4 separate regions of the Homo sapiens genome follow, and all the other regions are linked to region 2. Evidence: promoter capture Hi-C in human tissues and cell types (Jung and others, 2019). All regions are on one chromosome and are shown on one strand. Each heading gives the region's core, a stretch centred on a gene start or on the middle of the fragment in contact. The rest is flanking DNA. Distances are from core to core; before and after follow the strand shown.

Region 1 (3,153 bases), core at 628-3,127, 380 kb before region 2:
CAGAGTGAGACTCCACCTCAAAACAAACAAACAAACAAACAAAAACTAATCATTTAAGCCAGGTGTGGTGGCTCATGCCTGTAATCCCAGCACTTTGGGAGGCCGAGGCGGGCGGATCATGGGGTCAGGAGATGGAGACCATCCTGGCTAACACAGTGAAACCCCGTCTCTACTAAAAATACAAAAAATTAGCCGGGCGTGGTGGCGGGCACCTGTAGTCCCAGCTACTCAGGAGGCTGAGGCAGGAGAATGGTGTGAACCCGGAGGCGGAGCTTGCAGTGAGCCGAAATCGCACTACTGCACTCCAGCCTGGGTGACAGAGCAAGACTCTGTCTCAAAAACAACAACAACAACAAAAAACCTAAAACAAACAAAAAAAAGAAATCATGCCAAGGAATCTAGACTTTATCCCGCAGGCAGGGAGAGCCCCTGAAGAATTTTCAGGCAGAGGAGAGTATAATTTGAGCTCTAGATGGTTCTTATTTAAAAGCCCATCTTTTTGGCTCCAAGAATTTTGACATATTGAAGAAAAGAGAGATCATAATTTATAATTCATTTAGCCAGAAGCATCACAGCAATTTTGGTGAGAGAAGAGAGTAGATTGTTGAGTTGAATGCATGGTGGTTGTTATTTCACAGACTTACCTCATTTGGGGGGAAAGGAAGAAAAGAGAGTATTTTCACAGTGCAGGATATGGAGGCACGACTGGGGAGAATCCATTTCTGTGCCAGTCCCCACTCGGTGGAAGATGGCAGAGGGGCCTAACTAACTAGCGGGTTAGGTGGGCAGAAGGGCTGAGAGCTGTGGGGAGGAGCTGTGCACCTGCCGGGGTTACAAGTGTGGGGGGCGCTCTGTAGGGGTGAGGTGGGGAGGCAACGCAGCACACACAGGCCTCTGAGAGCCTCCTCAGCAGCAACAAGGGGTTGCCACCTCCCCAGGGCCGCAGAGTTTTCCTTTATGTTCCAGGCTCGATTTTTTTTTTTTTTTTTTTTTTTTTAGACAGACAGATTCTTGCACTGTCGCCCAGGCTGGAGTACAGTGGTGCGATCTTGGCTCACTGCAACCTCCGCCTCCTGGGTTCAAGCAATTCTCCTGCCTCAGCCTCCTGAGTAGCTGGGATTACAGGTGCCCGCCACCACGCCCAGCTAATTTTTGTATTTTTAGTAGAGACAGGGTTTCACCATGTTGGCCAGGCTGGTCTCAAACTCCTGACCTCGTGATCCGCCCTCCTCGGCCTCCCAAAGTGCTGTGATTACAGGCATGAGCCACCATGCTCTGCCTGGGCTCAACTTTTTAATGGCCTTCTTTTAAAAATTCAGATTTCTGCAAAATTATATTGGGATATTTGTCAGTTCTAACGATTTCTTGATGGTTGGGAGGATGATCAAGATTGAAGCAGTAAAGCCTCTTTTTAATCACAGTGCATGATGTGCTTAGATTCCATGGGTATAATATGAGCTGTGCCAGCCACATTCTTGATTTGCAGGCCTTGGGACACTATGTTGAGATTTCCGGCCCTCCTTATTTTATGCTGAGAATCAGTTGGAGCTAGATATGGCAGAGACTAGAAATCGCCATCATTAGATGAAAAGAAACAATGGTTAAGTAAGTCAGCTCCCTCTGGGTAAAACACAAAGCTTGGAAATAACAAGCAGCTCTACACAAGCAACATGAGGCTCGGCTGTGTGTGCCTGTAGGAGGTGACCTCACATATGTTCTCTCATTTAATCTTCACAGCAATCTTCTGGCAAAGGTCCCATCATTATTCCCCTTTTGCAGATGGGGATACTGAGGCTCAGAGTTGAAGCAACTTTCTCCAAGAAGGTTACTAGCTGGTAAATACCTAAGTCAAGATAAGAATTCTGGTCTACATCCTGGCTAACACAGTGAAACCCTGTCTCTACTAAAAATACAAAAAATTAGCTGGGTGTGGTGGCGGGTGCCTGTAGTCCCAGCTACTCGGGAGGCTGAGGCAGGAGAATGGCGTGAACCCGGGAGACGGAGCTTGCAGTGAGCCGAGATTGGGCCACTGCACTCCAGCCTGGGCGACAGAGCAAGACTCCATCTCAAAAAAAAAAAAAGAAAAAGAAAAAAGAATTCTGGTCTAGCTGACTCCAATCCCAGACTAAGCAGGGCTCTTTTTCCTCATGGAAACTTGCAGGGACTGTTTTCTCCTTTGTCCCTTCTCAGTTTGTAGGAGCTTCTGTCATATCTTCAACATCAAAGTCCTCTGGAGATAAAGGTCTGCTTCTAACTGAAGTGTGGACGTCTTGTCTTCTGAACTCCAGATGGCCAGAGGCTCCAGTGTGCCCTGCAGCTCTGCCAGCTTCACTGGTGTCAGGTCATTCCTCCCAGCGACCTCAGATGCAAATACACTCTCTATGCCAGTCAGCCACACTGGACCAGAGGGAAAACTGCATTTTTAGGATGCTGCTTTATTAAGAAATTTTAAAACCATAAAGTATAGCAGGCATATGAAAGAGTGTATAAACACATCCTTATCCAAGTTAAAGGAGAATAAAGTGAACACCTGTGTATTGCCTACCCTGATTGAGAACTAGAACAGTTTCAGGAGCTTAGAATTCCCCTGGCACCCCTCCCCAACCTCATCCCTGTGCCTCCCCCATGAGGTCCAATATGTGTATCTTTAAGCCTATTATTTACTTTTGCCTGTGTTTGAAGATCACACCACTGGAACATGCAGATTGTATGCAAAACAAGCCATCTTCCCTGGCTTGCTTCCTCCCTCAACATTGTGTGACTGAGAGTCACGGCTGCTGATGCACACACCTGTAGTTCATTTATTTCATTTTCGTTGTTGCATCATATTCCTTTGGATGACTCTTCATCCAGTGAATTATTATCCATCCTATTCTTGATTTGGGTTAAGTCTATTGGTTTTGGGGTTTTGTTTTGCAAATAATACTGTGTCTTTAGATAGGCACATATTTAACTTGTCTTAATAATGCCAAATGGTTTTCCAAAGTGCTTATACCAATTACACATCAACTAGTAGTAGGTGAGAGGTCCCGTTGCTCCATATACGATGTTTGGTATTGTCTGATTTTCAGGAGTTTTTTTGGTCACTGTAGTGGTTGGGAAGTGGTACTTTGTGATTTCATTTGCATTTCCTTGATTGCTAATGAAGTTGAC
Region 2 (3,114 bases), core at 1-2,500:
GCTCTACCTCTGACCTCTCCGGAGGTTCCGCTGCCTCCAAGCCGGACTTAGGGCTTCAAGAGGCGGGCGTGCCCTCTGGAGTCCCCTACCATGACTGAAGGCGCCAGAGACTGGCGGTGTCTTAAGACTCCGGGCACCGCCACGCGCTGTCAAGCAACACTCTGCGGACCTGCCGGCGTAGTTGCAGCGGGGGCTTGGGGAGGGGCTGGGGGTTGGACGGGATTGAGGAAGGTCCGCACAGCCTGTCTCTGCTCAGTTGCAATAAACGTGACATCTTGGGAGCGTTCCCCAGAGTTTGTCTGCTTCTAGAACCCGGGTCGCTCCTGCTGCGGTTCCAGGTTTGGCCGCCAGAAGACGCTGCCGCCTCAGACGAGGGCGGGCTGTGTGGGGCGGGAGTACCAGAAAGGGTCGGCGTGTGTCCCCGGGATGCTCGCAGCTTCCCTCTGCCCAGACTGGGGTGGCTTTCGGCGCAATCTGTCAAGCTGTTGGACCTGCCGTCCCCACTCTGACCATTGGCTGGGAAAAGTGGATCTGGCTGATGCTCCCAGAGCCCAGGAGCCAGGGCGGAGCGGGGCGGCGGCTGCTCCCACGATCCCAAGGCCGCGCACCTGCCTCCTCCCCCTCCGCCGCCGCCACCTGAGGGATCGGGAACAAAGGTGCTTTGTACAGGCCGCAACCACCTCATTACTTCGTCTTAGGGACTGGGGCCGCGTGGGCCCCCAGCCCGGAACGAAGGTGTGGAGCGGCAAGGGACAGACGCCAATCCTAAAGTGAGCATCTAGCGCGCCACCTAAGGCTCTTTAGGGAAGGTGGTCCCAGAGCTGTGTTGTCCCTTCCGCTTGCACTGTCCCTAGATGTGCAAAGAAAACGGGGCAGTGCATGAAGGTGGTTGGACAGGCTTCATGGATCCTCGCCCGCGCCTCACTTTCCCCTATCTGGGCAAAGGTTATGTACCCTTATTTAAAATCTTCCAAACTTCTAATAAGGCAGTCTACCCTGCACTAAAGCAGACACGAAAGAGATGACCTCCCTAAAAATACTGCTGTTGGAATACGTCCTTCCTTCCCGCCCCCTCGCAGTGCGGTGCAGCCTCAGTGGAAGCTTTGGCGAACCTGGCGCGCGCTGCGGTGCACAGAGGGTTAACTGGAGTTGGCGCTGGGTGGAGAGGAGGAGACGCGCTCCCATTGGCGGAAAGTTATTCAGGGGCGGGGTCAGTGAATCTCCGTACCCCACTCCCCTTTCCGCAACTTCCCTCTTCACTTTGTACCTTTCTCTCCTCGACTGTGAAGCGGGCCGGGACCTGCCAGGCCAGACCAAACCGGACCTCGGGGGCGATGCGGCTGCTGCCCCTGCTGCGGACTGTCCTCTGGGCCGCGTTCCTCGGCTCCCCTCTGCGCGGGGGCTCCAGCCTCCGCCACGTAGTCTACTGGAACTCCAGTAACCCCAGGTAGCCGGGCCGAACCGGGCGAGCGCACAGCCAAGTCTGCGCGCTCCCGGGCTTTGCGCGCGCCCGCCACCCGCTCTTTGCGCGGCGCCGCCTGAGCCTGGCCGCGCGCCGGGGCTCCTTTGTTTGAGCCGGCGGGGGAGGGGGGAGGGGCGAGGGGCGAGGCGCGCCCTGGGTCTCCCCACAGCCCGCATGTGTTGGGGGGCAGGCAGAAGACCCCAGCCCCAAGGGTTGTCTAGGGGGTCTTGGAGCATGGAGCTGGGGGGGCCTTTGCCCGCACTCCGGGCTCCGCCCCCCTCGCTGCTCTCCTGGCGATCCCCAGCCTCCCGCAGGCTGGAGCTGTGGCTGACGAACTTGAGAGCGAGGGAGGGGGCTTTACTCTTATGAAAGAGCGTGGGTTACTCTCCTGCCCGCTGGGTCTCACCTCTGGCTCTCACTCTGTCTCCTGATCTCATTTGCTATCTCTGCTTTCATCTCTGTCTTTATTGGTCCTTCTGTTTCTTTCCAGTGTCAGCCCTGCCCTTCTAGCCGAATCACCTCTGGGCAAGTCTCGTGACCTTCCTAACCTCATTTATCTCACCTGTATAATGGGCTAATAATACCTAGTACCCTGGGAAGTCTGGCAGGGTAAGTGAGGTCATGTATGTGAAAGAGGCTCAGGCTGTACAGATATAAACTATTATTTCTTTCTCTCTCCTGAGCTGCCTGCCTTTGAACCTTAGTATATTTTACTGTTTCCATCCCCCTCCCCAAGTCTCCCTGCCTCTCCTATTTCCTATCTGTTTTTCTTTCTGATTTTCTACTTGAGACAATCTGTGACTATTCATTTCTTCACTCACTAACATTTATTTATTAAACACATACTGTGTGTGCCCGGCCCTGTGCTAGGTTGCAGGGGATTAACTATATAGATGAGAAGATCAAGACCCTGCCCTCTGGGATTCCACAGACTCTCTGGAGAACAGGCGCAGGCAGGAGAGCCTGCATAAAGACAGGTCATTACAATACCAATAACAAGTGATAAGAGCTTTTGTTGTCCTTGGACTCTGAATTCTCTATCTCTGTCACAGACCAAAGCTTCTGAATCACTTGGAGGACCTGTTAAAAATTCAGGTTTCTCACCCCCCAATCTTAAGGTTTCTGGCTCATTCATTCAATCCACAAATATTTATTGAACACTGTCCTGTGCTGGGCACTTTTCCAGGCACGGGGGATGCAGTAGAACAAAACTTACCAAGGCCCTGTCCTTGCTCAGCTTGCGTTCTAGTAAGTCTGGGCTGGCTGAGCCCAGGAATCTTCATTTCTAATCAGAACTGATACAGGTCGTCCTTGGACCACCCACTGGAGGCTTTTCCTAAGTCATGCTTCGCTGTGTTTGTGGTATGGGGGGTGGTTCATGCAGCATTCAGTACTGTGGGGAGCAGCCCCTTCCAGCCCTTCCCACCTGTGCTGGCTTCCCCAGGCAGCTCCCAAGAGGTGGGGAAGGGAGTCCTGAGAAGACTGAAGACTGGGTAGTATGTGGACTCCCCCCATGCCTGGCACTTGCTCCTCCTGGCCAAAAAAGGGAGGCACCTAGCACCCACTCCCTCATTCTTTTTTTTTTTTTTTTTTTAATTTTTAGAATTTAGAGACAGGGTCTTGCTCTGTCACCCAGGCTGTAGTGCGGTGGC
Region 3 (3,027 bases), core at 509-3,008, 300 kb before region 2:
AATTTTAGTTTTCTGGAACTCTGTGCTTATGTGAACCAGATACATTTTCATTTCACATCTGCCCACTCTTCTCTATCATAAGGATCATATATATTCTGGCACCCTATTAGAGATGCCCAAGACTCTTCTTTCTTTTTCCTTTTTTTTTTTTTTTTTTGAGACAGGGTCTCACTCTGTCACCCAGGCTGGAGTGCAGTGGCGCAATCTCTGCTCGCTGCACTCTTGACCTCCCAGGTTAGGTGATCCCCCCACCTCAGCCTCCTGAGTCTACAGATGCACCACCACTCCCGGCTAATGTTTTTTTTGGTTTTTTTTTGTTTTGTTTTGTTTTGTTTTTGGCAGAGATGGGTTTTTGCTGTGTTGGTCAGGCTGGTCTCCAACTCCTGACCTCAAGCGATCCACCTGCTTTGACCTCCCAAAGTGTTGGGATTACAGGCGTGAGCCACTGTGCCTGGCCACCCAAGACTCTTCTAATGTTGCTTTTTGTTTTTCATAATTAAACATTTTTCAGGAATCTTCAGGATTATTTTCCTCTTCCTTAATGCTGCAGGTTTTTCTCAAAGGCCTCCAGCAGGATCCCTGTCGCCTCCCCACCTTCCCCCTCCCCAGCCATCTATCTCTCCGCCTGGCACCAGAAGGGGATCGCTACAGGCTGCTCCTTCCCTACAGGAGGCTAACTTCTCACTTCTCCAGCTAGAGGGCAGGGTTCCTGGGTCTAGCAGGCTTCATCCCATGTGGTAGGCTACTTTCCTATCCTCTCTAACTAGTCCTCTGATATCATAAACCAGTGGTTTGCAAACTTTTAAAATCATGGGCTCCTACCAATTAAAAATTTTTTGAGCATGCCCTCCTCCATTATACATATATTTATTATAAATTACAGACATGTATTGCTCTCTATCCATTTATTAAATACTAGCCAGGCTTTATATATATATATATATATATATATATGTAGAAGTTCTGATCATTTCTCCCAATAGTCCCATGGATCACTGTGCGTGTGCCCCACATTGGAGGTTATAACTCAAACCAAAGCAGTCCATGAGGAACCACAGTGCCTGGCCCCACTGTTCCCAGGCTCTGCTCAGTTCTGCTCAGCCTACAGGGTTTAGCTTGCAGGCTTCCATCAACCCCATGTAGGGTGCTTCATCCCTGTAATGACCACTTTCCTACTGTTTTGTTTTGGGGTTTGTTTTTTTTTTTTTGAGATGGAGTCTGGCTCTGTCACCCAGGCTGGAGTGCAGTGGCGTGATCTCGGCTCACTGCAAGCTCCGCCTCCTGGGTTCACGCCATTCTCCTGTCCCAGCCTCCCGAGTAGCTGGGACTACAGGTGTGTGCCACCATGCCCGGCTAATTTTTTTGTATTTTTAGTAGAGACGGGGGTTTCACCGTGTTAGCCAGGATGGTCTCGATCTCCTGACCTCGTGATCTGCCCGCCTCGGCCTCCCAAAGTGCTGGGATTACAGGCGTGAGCCACCGAGCCTGGCCATTCCTACTGTTTTCTTGGAGTGGAAGTACCCCTTCTTGGAGGGGGTAGGAGGTTGTGGGAAGGAGATGGGAGGAGGAGGGAGCTGTGGTCTTGCTTCCTGCTGCTGGCAAGTGCAGGCCTGGGTGTCTGAGGCAGGGGCAGAAGAGAGTACAGCAAGGAAGCCTCTTTTTATCTCCTTACAATGGGAGTGGTGGCTCTCTTAATGAGAGAAAGAATGGGCCACAAATTGTTTTTCTCCTGCTTTAGGAGCCAGATCTCCAGAATAAAATTTCTCATTAAAATATCAGTATGCCAAAAGTTAACCAGCAAAATAAAAAACCTGTTGACAGACTGGAAGGCCTGGGACACTGAGACAGCCTGTTGCAGAATTTGGAGCCTCAGGAGGGACCAAAGTGAAGGGTCCAAAGGGTCCGAAGGGAATCCACTCAAGAGGACAGTAAGGTCATTTATAAAGCATGGCTGTGACAGCAAGGCTCACCCCACTTCATCAATGTTATGGGAGGCCTTGTTGCTCCTCCCAAGGAGATAAACATACAAAGGTGAGCTGGCAGGCCACTGCACTGCTCAAGGCACGCTAGGAAGGCTGGCTCTCCAACCTGCTGCCGCAGTGAGGACCCGGGGCCTCAGATGGTCTCTCCACCAGTAAAGCTGCTTGGCACTTGACAGTGTAAAATCAGGAGGTTCCTCCCTGAGGGAGGTGGGCAGGCAGCCAGGAGAATCCCAGAGAATGCAGAGTGCCACAACTGTCAGGCCTCGGAACCCATGATGTAATGCCTCTCTGGGGGCCAAGGAAAACAAGCCCACTGTTGTCACTGCCCTCCCAGCAACCAGGCGCTGCCCTCCCCATGGCACGGCTGTTCTGCGTAATTATGATCCCACTTTCTCTCCTTGGGAGGAGGAAATATGAAAAACCTTTGTTGTCACATAAAAACCAACCCAAGATATGAGAACTGTCTTTTAAAATACATCTTGCTGTAGAGAGATTTCCATAGCAACTTCAGAAGTGTGTGTATACAACTAGAGATAAGTCCAGGCTGATGAAAGCTACCTGGAATGTGAACAGGCTCTGGGCATCAGCAGCTGTGGATTTTTCTAGAACCTGTCATGCTGCTGTGTGACCCTGGGCAAGTCACTTACCCTCTCTGATGCCTAAGGTGATAGAATCATCATTAGATCAGGCTGAGAGAGATCAAGGCATCCTGTCCACACTACCCTGGTCTGACGCTTCAGTTCCCCAAAGCTTCCCCTGCTTCCAGCTTCTGTCCAGTCTCTGGCTGAATAAGTCCTGGCTGAAGGCCTCTGCCAATCTTACTTATTATTTGACATTGGGAAACAGAATGATCATTTAAGCTTGATTCTAAAAATAGTGCTTAGTCTTGGTAAGAGAAGTGCTTTGCCTGTTTAGGAAACAATATATTAACGGGGCAGATTCCTGGGAAACAGTCTGTGAGATGCTGAGATTTGGGGGTGGGAGTTTTACTGGGGCTGCTCTCAGGATCAATACCTCTGGGGTATAGAGGAAGTTCCCGGATGCA
Region 4 (3,145 bases), core at 180-2,679, 410 kb before region 2:
TTTAGCACTTCAAATATATTGGCCAGCTGCTTCCTGGACTCCAAAGTTTCTCATGAGAAGTTCTCTGATAATCTTAATTAGGATCCCTTGTGTGTGACAAGTTGCTTTTTTCTTTCTGCTTTCAAGATTCTCTCTTTGTCTTTCAAAAGTTTGATTACAATGTGTCTCAGAGTGGGTCTCTTTAGTTTATTTTACTTCTTGGGTGTCTATATTCATGTCTTGTATCAAATTTATTATGTGTATATATTTGTGTAACCACCACCAAAATCAAGATAAAGAACAGCTTCATCATTGCAAGGCTCCCTTGTGCTACCCCTTTATAGCCACAACCAGTCCCCCTTCCCCTCATTCCTAATTCTTGACAACAATTAACGTGTTCTCCATCTCTATAATTTTGTTATTTAAGTAATGTTATATAAATGAAATAATACTGTATGTAGCCTTTTGAGATAGGCTTTTTTTTTTCAACTCAGCATAATTCCCATGAGATTCATCTAGATTGTTACACGTATTAATAGCCCATTCCTTTTTATGACTGAATCCTAGTCCATGGTATGGATATACCAGTTTGCTTAACCACTCGCCCATTGAAGTATACTTGGGCTATTTTCAGTTTTGAGATGTTATGAATAAAGTGGCTATAAACATCTGAGCATAGGTTTTGGGTGACTATAACTTTTCATATCTCTGGGATAAATGCCCAAGAATGTAATTGCTGATTTTATTCTTTTTTAGAGAGTACCTTGGATCATCTTGGCTCTTTGCTCTTTCACATATATTTTAGAATTGGCTTGTCAAAATTATGAAAAACACTTTAAAGTTTTGATAGAAATGGCACTGAATCTATGAGACATTTGGGTGAGAATTTAGGATATTGAGACTTTCTAGCCATTGATAATATTTCTCTCTTTTTACTTAATTCTTCTTAATGTATTTCAATAAAGCATCATGATCTTCTTTGTATCAGTACTGCAATTATTCCCAGGTGCCCATACCAGTCAGGAAAGACTGGTTGTGTTATGGCAATAAAACAACCAAAAAAGTTTATTTCTTCCTCATGCTACATGTTCATCATGAGTCAGGGGGCTCTATTCCACATTTTAATTTTTTTCTATCTGTTTTTTCACCTTCTAAAATCCTTAGAATGTTCCACATTTTCATCATTCTTACTTTGAGGCTCAGCCTGAAAGGGAAGCTACTGTAGAACATTGCCAGTTGTGGAGGGAAAAGGGAACTTGGAGAAGCATGCACTGGCTCTTAGGCTTCTGGCTGGGAGTCTGTCACTTCTGCTCACTCTGCATTGGCTAAAGCAAGTCTAAGGCTAGCACTTCTCATATCATGTCTCTCTCTCTCTCTCTCTCTCTCTCTCTGTGTGTGTGTGTGTGTGTGTGTGTGTGCGTTTCTGTCTCTATCTCTCTCCACACGTACACACACCCTCTCCAAGCATCTTGGGAGACCTGAGCCAACACATAAGAAGTCTAGCTACCCTGAAGCCACCATACTAGAGAGATCATGTGTAAAGACCTCACAGAAATAGCGAGAGATGCCTCCAAAACTGAGCTGGCAAGTATTCTCTCTTTTTCTATCGTCCACAAAAACTCCTATAAGATTGGAATGATCTTCTCCTTGAAAATTTCATATAACTCACCTGGAAAATATCAGGGCTTGGTATTTTCTTTGCGGGAACACTTTAAATACTGATTGAATTTCTTTAATTATTATAGAGCTATTCATTCTGCCTTTCTAGTCTTGAATCTGTTTTGGTAAATTATATTTTCTAGGACGTTTTCCATATCATCTAAGTTTTGAATTATTAGCATTGATTTGTTTATACTTTTATGTTTAAATGTTCACTATAACCATAGTTATAGATTTTTATCTCGTTTTCAGTTTTCAGTATTGCTTATCTGTACATGCTGTTTATCTCTGTCTCTTAAATTTTTCCAGAAGTCTTTCAACTTCAAAGAATCAATTTTGGCTTTGTTGATCCTCCGTTTTCAGTTTCATTACTTTCTCTACTTATTGTTATTTTTTTCTTCCTACTACTTTCCTCATGGTTATTCTGCTGTTCTTTTTCTGATTTCCCAAGTTGGAGATTTAGCTCATTATTTTTATTCTCTCTACTTTTTAAATTATAAGCATTTAAAGTTATTAATTTCCAACCTTTTCGGTGTTGAAGTCTTAATTTCGGCAATTTTGTTTTTTATTTCTACAATTTATGTTTGACATTTTTTCATATCAAGGTCATTTTTATAGTCTTGTTCCTCTATCATGTTTTAAAATCTTCTTAAAAACCTGTCAATTCCTCATTTGTTTTACTTCATATGGTCACGTCAATGCTGAAGTCTTTGCGAGTCTGATTTTGCTGTTAATTTCTCTGCTGACTTTCTTTCTTTTTCTTTTTCTTTTTTTTTGAGATGGAGTCTCGCTCTGTCGCCCAGGCTGGAGTGCAGTGGCGCTATCTCAGCTCACTGCAAGCTCCACCTCCCAGGTTCACGCCATTCTCCTGCCTCAGCCTCCCGAGTAGCTGGGACTACAGGCGCCTGCCACCACGCCCGGCTAATTTTGTTTTTGTATTTTTAGTAGAGGCAGGGTTTCACTGTGTTAGCCAGGATGGTCTCGATTTCCTGACCTCGTGATCTGCCCCCCTCGGCCTCCCAAAGTGCTGGGATTACAGGCGTGAGCCACTGCGCCCGGCCTCTCTGCTGACTTTCTCACATGGTGTCTTTTCCTCATATGTATCCTGTAATTTTCATTGTGATCTCATGTTTGTTGGAACTGCACCTGTGAATAATCTTCAAAATTTACATTAAAGGTGTATTCCATTAGAAAGGATTTGTTTTTCCTCTGCTAAGTACATTAGGGACACACCAAACTTGGGACCACTTTACATTCTTGGCTTGGAATTGTTTTGACCAAACAGGTAGCATGAATTTTGGCACCAATGCTTTGTGAAGGACAACTTAATGCTTATGAGTTATTTTGGGGGAGATTTTATTTCATTTTATTCAGAGGTATGTCCTTCTCCTTTATGAGACAGGCTTTTCTTTCTAGTTCATTCTTTCACTGAGAGGATAGCCCTTTGGGGGCCCTGACTTTATGGAAGATTTTACAACCAATTCTCCAGCTTGCAAGGGCACTAAGC

Evidence for each region. The method cuts DNA at HindIII sites, captures the fragments that hold promoters and counts their contacts. A contact is called where the count stands out against the background at its distance.
Region 1: a contact is called between a fragment that was not itself captured here and the fragment with the promoter of EFNA4 in region 2, in 2 of the 25 tissues and cell types used here (IMR-90 fibroblasts and dorsolateral prefrontal cortex).
Region 3: a contact is called between a fragment that was not itself captured here and the fragment with the promoter of EFNA4 in region 2, in 1 of the 25 tissues and cell types used here (adrenal gland).
Region 4: a contact is called between a fragment that was not itself captured here and the fragment with the promoter of EFNA4 in region 2, in 1 of the 25 tissues and cell types used here (spleen).

The regions. Positions count from the first base shown.
Region 1 is chr1:154,684,366-154,687,518 of GRCh38, forward strand. No RefSeq gene overlaps it. Among named protein-coding and RNA genes, the nearest start is that of ADAR, 78 kb to the left of the region's middle. The HindIII fragment of the contact is 4,265 bases long and covers 1-3,153 here.
Region 2 is chr1:155,062,490-155,065,603 of GRCh38, forward strand. EFNA4 (ephrin A4) reads left to right here and starts at 1,251. Exons shown (of 4, transcript NM_005227.3): 1 at 1,251-1,447. The coding sequence starts at 1,335. It overlaps ADAM15 (ADAM metallopeptidase domain 15), which reads left to right. Exons shown (of 23, transcript NM_207197.3): 23 at 1-286. The coding sequence ends at 13. EFNA4-EFNA3 (EFNA4-EFNA3 readthrough) reads left to right here and starts at 1,251. Exons shown (of 5, transcript NM_001407761.1): 1 at 1,251-1,447. The coding sequence starts at 1,335. It overlaps DCST1-AS1 (DCST1 antisense RNA 1), which reads right to left and starts at 1,502. Exons shown (of 4, transcript NR_040773.1): 1 at 1,268-1,502. It also overlaps ADAM15-EFNA4. RefSeq lists silencers at 652-741, 1,122-1,271, 1,562-1,711 and an enhancer at 2,202-2,703. The HindIII fragment of the contact is 5,150 bases long and covers 1-3,114 here.
Region 3 is chr1:154,765,490-154,768,516 of GRCh38, forward strand. All of the region lies in intron 3 of KCNN3 (potassium calcium-activated channel subfamily N member 3), which reads right to left. Among named protein-coding and RNA genes, the nearest start is that of KCNN3, 100 kb to the right of the region's middle. The HindIII fragment of the contact is 3,402 bases long and covers 58-3,027 here.
Region 4 is chr1:154,656,466-154,659,610 of GRCh38, forward strand. No RefSeq gene overlaps it. Among named protein-coding and RNA genes, the nearest start is that of ADAR, 50 kb to the left of the region's middle. The HindIII fragment of the contact is 9,513 bases long and covers 1-3,145 here.